Linked DNA regions of Homo sapiens: region 2 is linked to region 1. Evidence: promoter capture Hi-C in 16 types of primary human blood cells and fetal thymus (Javierre and others, 2016). All regions are on one chromosome and are shown on one strand. Each heading gives the region's core, a stretch centred on a gene start or on the middle of the fragment in contact. The rest is flanking DNA. Distances are from core to core; before and after follow the strand shown. Region 1 holds the start of SIGLEC7 (sialic acid binding Ig like lectin 7). Region 2 holds the start of NOSIP (nitric oxide synthase interacting protein).

Region 1 (4,315 bases), core at 674-3,173:
AACAAACAAACAAACATAAAAAGACCCAAAGTAATGCTGATCTCACCTCATAGAGATCAGTTCGCTCTCCCTCTCCAAGAGTGTGATACTGTGCTTAATAAACTGCTGCTTCTTGCTTTGCTGTCTGTGTGTGTCTCATCCAATTCTTTGTTTAAGACACCAAGAGCCTGGAACTGCATGGCACCATCCGGTAACACTTCTGCCCACTGAGATACTGCAAATATCCTTATGGGGAGAGAGTGGCTGGGCAAGGAGGAGGCGCCCAGGAGGCAGATTGGTCTGCAGGATGAGATACTAGCTGCAAATGCAGGGATTGGAGGTGAGGGCGGGGAGTGGCTTCGGACGCCCAAACCCAGCATCTTCCTCTCTCAATCGTTACAGCCAAATGATCTCTAGGTTATGGACAATTAGGGGACAGTGTGGGCTGAGCAGATCAATGCAGTTGTATGGAAGAAAACAGACTGGGATTTTCTATGTATACAACATCTTCAGGAAAACCTACGTGAAGTTAGAATTTTCAAGGCAGCATGTGCCGATGATAAAACTACATAGAACAGCAGGAAGACTATTATCATTAAAGTGAGGCTAGGGGCTCCTTCAGGAGGGAGCGGGGGCATGGCCAATAGGAAAGGGGAATGTAAGGGTGAATGAATTAATAAAATCTCTTTCTTCATTTCAAGGGACAGACTTGACAGTTCTTTTGTGTTCTAGTTCTTCAAGGGTGCTTATTTTGTGTGAATCACTGAGTTGGTTTTTAGGGGACACTTTTATGTACATGTCTTGTGTTTCTCCCCGCTCAAAAAAAACTGTTTCAAGAAAAGCTGGCCTGGATCTAAGGGGGCTGCAGCTTGCAGGATTTTTCCCACTTCCTCCCAGCCCAGTCACACAGTTTAAAATAATCTTCTGTTGAAGTCAGGTGCGTGTTTCTTCTCTCAGAAAATCGCGCCCATCACTGAGGGTGGACGCCCCGGGGCTGGTGTCTTTGCTCCACGTCTCCTGTTCACCTGAACCCCTAGGAGCAGTTCCTGCAGGAGCAAAGCCCCAGGGCCAGCAGACCCCTCACACTCTGCACTAACCAGGCCTCATGAGATAGCAGTGGTGAAGGGAAATGTCCTTGTGCTCAGAGAGCTGTGAGGATGGGAATAGTGTCTGCTCTTTTCATATTGATCCTTTCCCTTATGACTTTCCTGTCTACCAAGCCCCACAATACAACAATCACAGCCTCAGCTTCCCCGGCCTCCTGCAGGCTGGGCTCCCCTCCGTGTCCTTGGCGTGTATCAACAGGCGCAATCCTCACCTTCACAGCCCCATGTCCGTCTGCTCGGTCCTCCTGAGACTGAACCCCCGACCTAGGGGAGAGTGACCCCACCCTGCCTGTGCCCCCCACTGAAGCTCCTGTCATGGGGAGCTCAAACGTCAGGAGACTCAGTGTCTCCCCACCACACAGTGACTCCTTGGGGACAGTGTCCGGCTCTGCTGTGTTGACCTCATTGTGCAGAAAGGGGGTGCCCACCTCGTGGCTGCTGAGGGAGGGATGAGAGGCTGCCTGTTCACCCCACCTGCACCCCTGTCTCTCATGGCCCCGAGTCCCACTTCTGAGCTACGCAGACATCCACAGCCTGTGACTCAGGGGTCTGGGCAGATGGGAGTTATTTTCACCCTGCAGAAAATATCACCTAAAGGGAAAGGCATTGAGAGGGAGGCAGGAGGTGGGGTGGGCCCTGCATGGGGTGGGAATCTGGGTGAGTCTGTCTCCCGCTCTGGCCTCAGGGACCCAGGAGTGAATGTCGGGTGGTGGACGGTGGATCTCCCAGGGCTGACCCAGCCCTGACAGTGTCTGTGTGTGAAGTTCTTCTTCTAAGGAGGTCACTGTTTTGACCTCACCACCGACTTCCTGTAGGGCCTCTTCTAAGTCTTGAGCCCGCAGTTCCTGAGAGAAGAACCCTGAGGAACAGACGTTCCCTCGCGGCCCTGGCACCTCCAACCCCAGATATGCTGCTGCTGCTGCTGCTGCCCCTGCTCTGGGGGAGGGAGAGGGTGGAAGGACAGAAGAGTAACCGGAAGGATTACTCGCTGACGATGCAGAGTTCCGTGACCGTGCAAGAGGGCATGTGTGTCCATGTGCGCTGCTCCTTCTCCTACCCAGTGGACAGCCAGACTGACTCTGACCCAGTTCATGGCTACTGGTTCCGGGCAGGGAATGATATAAGCTGGAAGGCTCCAGTGGCCACAAACAACCCAGCTTGGGCAGTGCAGGAGGAAACTCGGGACCGATTCCACCTCCTTGGGGACCCACAGACCAAAAATTGCACCCTGAGCATCAGAGATGCCAGAATGAGTGATGCGGGGAGATACTTCTTTCGTATGGAGAAAGGAAATATAAAATGGAATTATAAATATGACCAGCTCTCTGTGAACGTGACAGGTAAGGCACGGGCTCCAAGAGAGGCCAAAGGCAAATGTGATGAGGGCTTTAGGGCACGGCTGAGACGGGACACATGTCCTGGGAGGGGGCCGGGGGTGATGGACTCAGGAGAGGAGCTGGACCAGAGCCTGAGCTTCCCCAGGACCGCACCTTGGATGCCCCTCCTGATCCTGCAGGCCCCTCCCCTCACCAGCCCTGACCCACAGGCCTGACATCCTCATCCTGCCTCTGACGCTGGCATTGTGGCATGTGGGGCCTTATGACTCCTTGTTTTGGGGCCTGTCCTAGGCATGGCCGGGGTTTAGCACCATCCCAGGCCTCTCCCCACCAGATGCCAGAAGCACCCACTCCACCCATGCAGTGAGACAATAACAATTATCTCCACACATTGTTAAACGTCCTGGGGGGTTAAGTCCTCCCCAGTTGAGAGCCTTAGGTCTACACAACCCCGTGACTCTCTCAGGCCAGGCCAGGGAGGAAGCACTTCCTGGCGCAAACCAAGGGCAGCAGAGGCACCTGAGCCTGGACAGGGAGACTCAGCACACGGCCCCTCCATCTCTCATGCCCTGAGGTCCTCGGAGATCCACATTTAGATGCTCAAAAGACAGGAGGGACCTCCACGATGGTCCAGAGGCCGGGAGGGCAGGACCTACGTGTCTGGTGCAGGCCCTGGTGCTCCAGGGAAGCCCGGAGGTAGGAGGTGGGACACGGTCTCTTCTCCTCCCTGGGTGGGTCTCTAGGGTCTCTGAGCTTCAGGGTTTCCTTCACTCTGTGCAGAGGGAACCAGTTCCTATAGCATGTGGGTTTGTAGTTTCTCTTTCGTGCTGGGTTGAGGTCTCCAGCTCCTCTCCAGCCCCTCTCCAGCCCCCTGTGGGTCCCACAGCCCTGCCCCTCCTCTCCCTCCCACTTCTCTGCTCACACAAGGAGCCCAGGAACCCTCTGTCTCAGAGATGCTGCTGCCTCTCTTGTGGGCAAATGAAGAGAGGGACAGTCGGGGCTGGGCTGAGCCTCATTTCCCCACAGCGTCCCAGGCCCCACTGTCAAGATACAGGCTGGAGGTGCTGGAGTTGGTGATGGTGCAGGAGGGCTAGTGCGTCTCTGTGCCCTGCAGTGTCCTTTAACCCTATTACAACTGAACTGACTCTAGCCCTGTCCATGGATGCTGGTTTAAGAAAGGGATCAATATACAATGGAATAATCCAGTGGCCACAAACATCCCAAATGGAAAAGTGCAGGAGACACGGGGCCGATTCCACCTCCTTGGGGACCTGAAGACCAACAACTGCTCCCTGAGCATCAGAGATGCCAGGAAGGGGGATTTGAGGAACTACTACTTCCAGGTGGAGAGAGGACAGATAAGATGGAATTACAAAACGAAGCAGCTCTCTGTGAATGTGACAGATAAGGCACAGGCTCCAGGAGACACCACAGGGAAAGGTCATGGGGGTGGCAGCGAAAGCCTGGGATGGGGCCCCTGCCCTGGGAGAGGGCTGAGGGTGAAGCGAGTTGGGCTCAGGGCAGAAGCTGAACCAGAGCCTGAGCTTCCCCCAGGGCTGTACCATGGATCCTCTGTCCTGATCCTGAGTCCCCCTCTCTTCACCAGCCTTGACCCACAGGCCCAACATCCTTATCCCCGGTACCCTGGAGTCTGGCTGCTTCCAGAATCTGACCTGCTCTGTGCCCTGGGCCTGTGAGCAGGGGACGCCCCCTATGATCTCCTGGATGGGGACCTCTGTGTCCCCCCTGCACCCCTCCACCACCCGCTCCTCAGTGCTCACCCTCATCCCACAGCCCCAGCACCACGGCACCAGCCTCACCTGTCAGGTGACCTTGCCTGGGGCCGGCGTGACCACGAACAGGACCATCCAACTCAATGTGTCCTGTGAGTGC
Region 2 (4,315 bases), core at 783-3,282, 1.6 Mb before region 1:
GGCTCAATGGCTCACACCTGTAATCTAAGCACAGCACTTTGGGAGGCCAAGGCAGGAGGATCGCTTAAGCCCAGGAGTTTGAGACCAGCCTGGGCAACATAGTGACACCTTGTCTCTATCTATTTTTTCTTTTTTTTTTTTGAGACAGAGTCTCACTCTGTCGCCCAGGCTAGAGTGCAGTGGCGTGATCTCGGCTCACTGCAAGCTCTGCCTCCCGGGTTCACGCAATTCTCCTGCCTCAGCCTCCTGAGTAGCTGGGACTACAGGTGCCTGCCATCATGCCCGGCTAAGGGGTTTCACCGTGTTAGCCAGGATGGTCTTGATCTCCTGATCTCATGATCCGCCCGCCTTGGCCTCCCAAAGTGCTGGGATTACAGGCATGAGCCACTGTGTCTGGCCTATTTTTAAATACTTAAAAAAAAAAAGAAAGAAAACAGAAGCAGGTAAAATGAGACCACAAAAAAGCAAACGGGACAAATTCAGATGGTGGGATGATCAACTGAACTAGAATTAGTTTCTTCAATGAATCGATTACACCAAGAAATAACCAAAGTGGAGTGGAAGGGGGAACAGTTCTAAATTAAGAGAGATGTAAAAGACGATAGCAATTACTTAACTATATCCTGATTCCAACAAACCCACAGTTACACTGGACTTGACTCTGCACCACGTAATGGATAGTAGTCTAGAATTACGGTTGTTCTTTTAAAGTGTGATGATGGTATTGTGGTCATATCAGCAATGTTTCTGGTTTTTACACACGCACCCTGTTAGATAAAATTTATAGAAGGTCATTGGTTTGGATTGAGCTCCTGCACTAGGTTCAACAGACCAAACCAAAATGGAGACACTCATGCTAAAGTTCCATGCTTCCAAGCCAAAACTAAGTTGATATCTGATCTTCTGAGATATCAGGAGAGAGATAATAGCCAAATCCCCAAACAACCCAGTTTTAGCCCACCTGATAAAGGAAGTCCCCTCTACTTTAACCTTTAACTTAGAAATTTAATCAAGTTAATCAATTTAATCAACTAGCTTTTTGTTTTCCGTTTCTGATTTTCTCAGCCCTTTGTCTCTGAAAACAACCTCTGCTCAGCTCATCGGAACACTCACGCTATTTTCCATAATTAGATGTTGTTTGATTGTAGATTCACGAATAAATGCCAATTAAGATCTTCTCACTAAATGTGTTGCAATTTTGTCTTTTGACAATCCTTAAGTGTCATGATGCCTACGATTTGTTTTAATCTCTTTAAGTTTAAAAAAATACAGCAAGTATGGCAAAAATAATCATTGGTGATTTGGGTGACAGGAATTCCTGTATTCTTCTCTCACTTTTATATAAGTTTGAACATTTTCGTAAGAAAACATTAACATCAAACTGCCTCAAGGACCGTTCAAGCCCCAAGTTCACAGAATTAGCAGCACAATCAGAATGGGAATCCATGACTGCCTGACCCCGAAGCTCCACACAAGAAAACGTGAATCCCTGCACCAACCCCGAAAGGGAAGGGGCTGTCAAAAAGGTGAAGAGAAGGTGGCGATGGATGACTGCACAATCTAGTATCGCCCGCCGTCCCACCACAGTCTGAGAAACTGAGGCCAGGAAAGGAGTTCTCCCTCCTCAACTCCCACTCCTTAGACCCCCAGCAATCCCAGTCCACTCCTTCCCTTGGGACCACCAGCAAATAGCCATCATCTACAGCAGAACTGTAACTCTCAGGAGAACTGGCCGATGCTAGCTACCACTTGACTGAGTTTATAGTGAGAGAGAGAGACAAAGAGAGAGAGAACTGCCCGATGGACGGTTGGCCACCTCCAGCAGAGTGTAGTTCAGCTTCAAACTTGGGGCGCCCGGACAGCTGTATTAATAATGATTGACAGGGAATCGGGAATCCAAAATCTTGCCCCAGTCTCCCTCAAGACCCCAGGCCTCTAGCCCGCAGGAAAGCGATCCCAGCAACACTCTTCCTGCACCGCCTCGAACTCACCTCACTAACGACTCCCAGTCCCTCGGTCGCTTCTTCAACTGTGCCCCGACACCGGAAAGGAGCACTATTTTCCCCCTCCGCTCCGCCCACTTCCGCCCAGCAGAAGGCACCGGAAGTAGAGCTGCCCCTAGTTGCGGAAGTGCCTCGCCTGGCTTGCTCAAGTCCTCTCTTCTCTTTCTCTCTCCGGAAACGTGAGTAGCTAATCGAAAGTTCCGGATATTGAAACTGGTGGGAATATGGGGAACGCTTACTATGTACGAGGCATTTCCCAGGGAGATCGTTTTTTCCTGCTTGGTTCCCAGGTTTTGAGTCTCTCCAAGCCCAAATTTAAGGACTAATCACTTCCCCTAGAGATCGGGAAGCCCACTTTCCCAAATATATCATCCACTTTTCTTGCTGCATCTTAAAACAATTGAGAAGAGACAACTACGCTCCCATTTTACAGACAGAGCCATTGGGAAATTGAAAATCAAAGCCGTTCAAGTCGCTCTCAGGAAACAGGGATTTACTGCGGCACTGCCCAGCTGTCCCAGGGACTAAGGCATATCGTTCCCGCTAGTTTCTAGATACCTAGAGACCTAGATATTAATTTTTCTAGCTCGGACAGACGAACTCCCAGGGGAGAGCCAGAGCGGGTAGGGGTCGGGAGGGAGGAGGAGGGTCGAATCTAATCCCCCAGGTATCCCATGGTATTCGACACCTTGGCTTCCTCATGGAGCTCTGGCCTTTAAGTCCTTTATCCCAAGGTCCCTTTAAATACTTTGTCCCTTACCTGAGTCCCGCCCAGGGCAGGTAATGGCAAGTTCCGCCCACCTGCCAGAAACGGGGATCAGGCCTGGTTACCGGGAGTGGGGCGCCCCTCCTCCTTATCCCCTCCCCTCTTCCCTGTCCCCTTTCACAGCTGGCTGTAGCTGGCCAAGGAGTTCTCGATTAAAGAGGAAGGGGCAGTGCTCACATTTCTGGGCAGGTAAGTGAATGTCCCTGGAGGAAGAGCCTGGCTTGGGGACCCAGGCATCCTGGCTCCCCGCCCCTCCGAGACCCAGAAGTTTGGGGCTCCTAGGCCCAGGAGTCCAGGGCCCCTGCCCACTTAGGTCCCTAGACCCAATAATATAACTAATCCCCTGCCTCTGCCTCTCTCGTAATCTTTGTTGTCTGTGGGTGGATGTGACAATGAGCACAGAAAGAGGCACAAGTGGAAATTACCAGGAAGGGAAGACTCCAGATCACCAGTGGACATGTTTATAAGCATCTGTGTCAGGTGCTGTAGACACAGTGGGGAAAGAAAGATAAGCTGCCTGCTCCTTGCTTTCTTCTCTGGCGGACACTGCCTTCACTGAAATCCTGGCTCTCACACTTGCACACTGTGTGACCTTCGGCAAGCTATATTACCTCTCTGTGCCTCAGTTTCCTGTTCTCTATACTGGGGATAATAATAGGACTCCTGGTCGGGCGCAGTGGCTCACACCTGTAATCCCAGCACTTTGGGAGGCCGAGGCGGGTGGATCACTTGAGGTCAGGAGTTTGAGACCAGCCTGGCCAACATGGTGAAACCCCATCTCTACTAAAAATACAAAAAATTAGCCAGGCGTGGTGGTGCGCACCTGTAATCTCAACTACCCGGGAGGCTGAGTCAGGAGAATCGCTTGAACCCAGGAGGCAGAGGTCACAGTGAGCTGAGATAGCGCCACTGCACTCCAGCCTGGGTGACAGAGCGAGACTCTGTCTAAAAAAAAAAAAAAAAAAAAACTCCTGTGAAAAGTTTTGTTTTGTTTTGTTTTTGACATGGAATCTCGCTCTGTCACCCAGGCTGGAGTGCAGTGGCACAGTCTCGGCTCACTGCAACCTCTGTCTCCCCTTTCAAGTGATTATTCTGGCTCAGCCTCCCAAGTAGTTGGGATTACAGGCGCCCACAACCACGCCTGGCTAATTTTTGTATGACTCCTGTGAAAAGTAAAATGAGTTGAGGCCGGGCACAGTGGCTCACGCCTGTAATCCCAGCACCAGCACTTTGGGAGGCTGAGGCAGGCAGATCACTTGAGGTCAGGAATTCAAGACCAGCCTGGCCAACATGGTGAAACCCCATCTCTACTAAAAATATGAAAATTCACTTTGGGAGGCTGAGGCGGGCAGATCACGAGGTCAGGAGATCGAGACCATCCTGACTAACACAGTGAAACCCCATCTCTACTAAAAATACAAAAAAATTAGCCGGGCATGGTGGCCGGCACCTGTAGTCCCAGCTACTCGGGAGGCTGAGGCAGGAGAATGGCATGAACCTGGGGGGTGGAGTGTGCAGTGAGCGGAGATCACACCAATGCACTCTA

Evidence for each region. The method cuts DNA at HindIII sites, captures the fragments that hold promoters and counts their contacts. A CHiCAGO score of 5 or more calls a contact.
Region 2: the fragment with the promoter of NOSIP here is called in contact with the fragment with the promoter of SIGLEC7 in region 1 in 1 of 17 cell types (neutrophils); the score reaches 6.2 in neutrophils.

The regions. Positions count from the first base shown.
Region 1 is chr19:51,140,378-51,144,692 of GRCh38, forward strand. SIGLEC7 (sialic acid binding Ig like lectin 7) reads left to right here and starts at 1,924. Exons shown (of 7, transcript NM_014385.4): 1 at 1,924-2,425; 2 at 4,029-4,307. The coding sequence starts at 1,993. LOC124904749 (a long non-coding RNA gene) reads right to left here and starts at 133. Exons shown (of 3, transcript XR_007067310.1): 1 at 47-133. The HindIII fragment of the contact is 9,764 bases long and covers 1-4,315 here.
Region 2 is chr19:49,578,524-49,582,838 of GRCh38, forward strand. NOSIP (nitric oxide synthase interacting protein) reads right to left here and starts at 2,033. Exons shown (of 9, transcript NM_001270960.2): 1 at 1,992-2,033. PRRG2 (proline rich and Gla domain 2) reads left to right here and starts at 2,793. Exons shown (of 7, transcript NM_000951.3): 1 at 2,793-2,958. The HindIII fragment of the contact is 25,862 bases long and covers 1-4,315 here.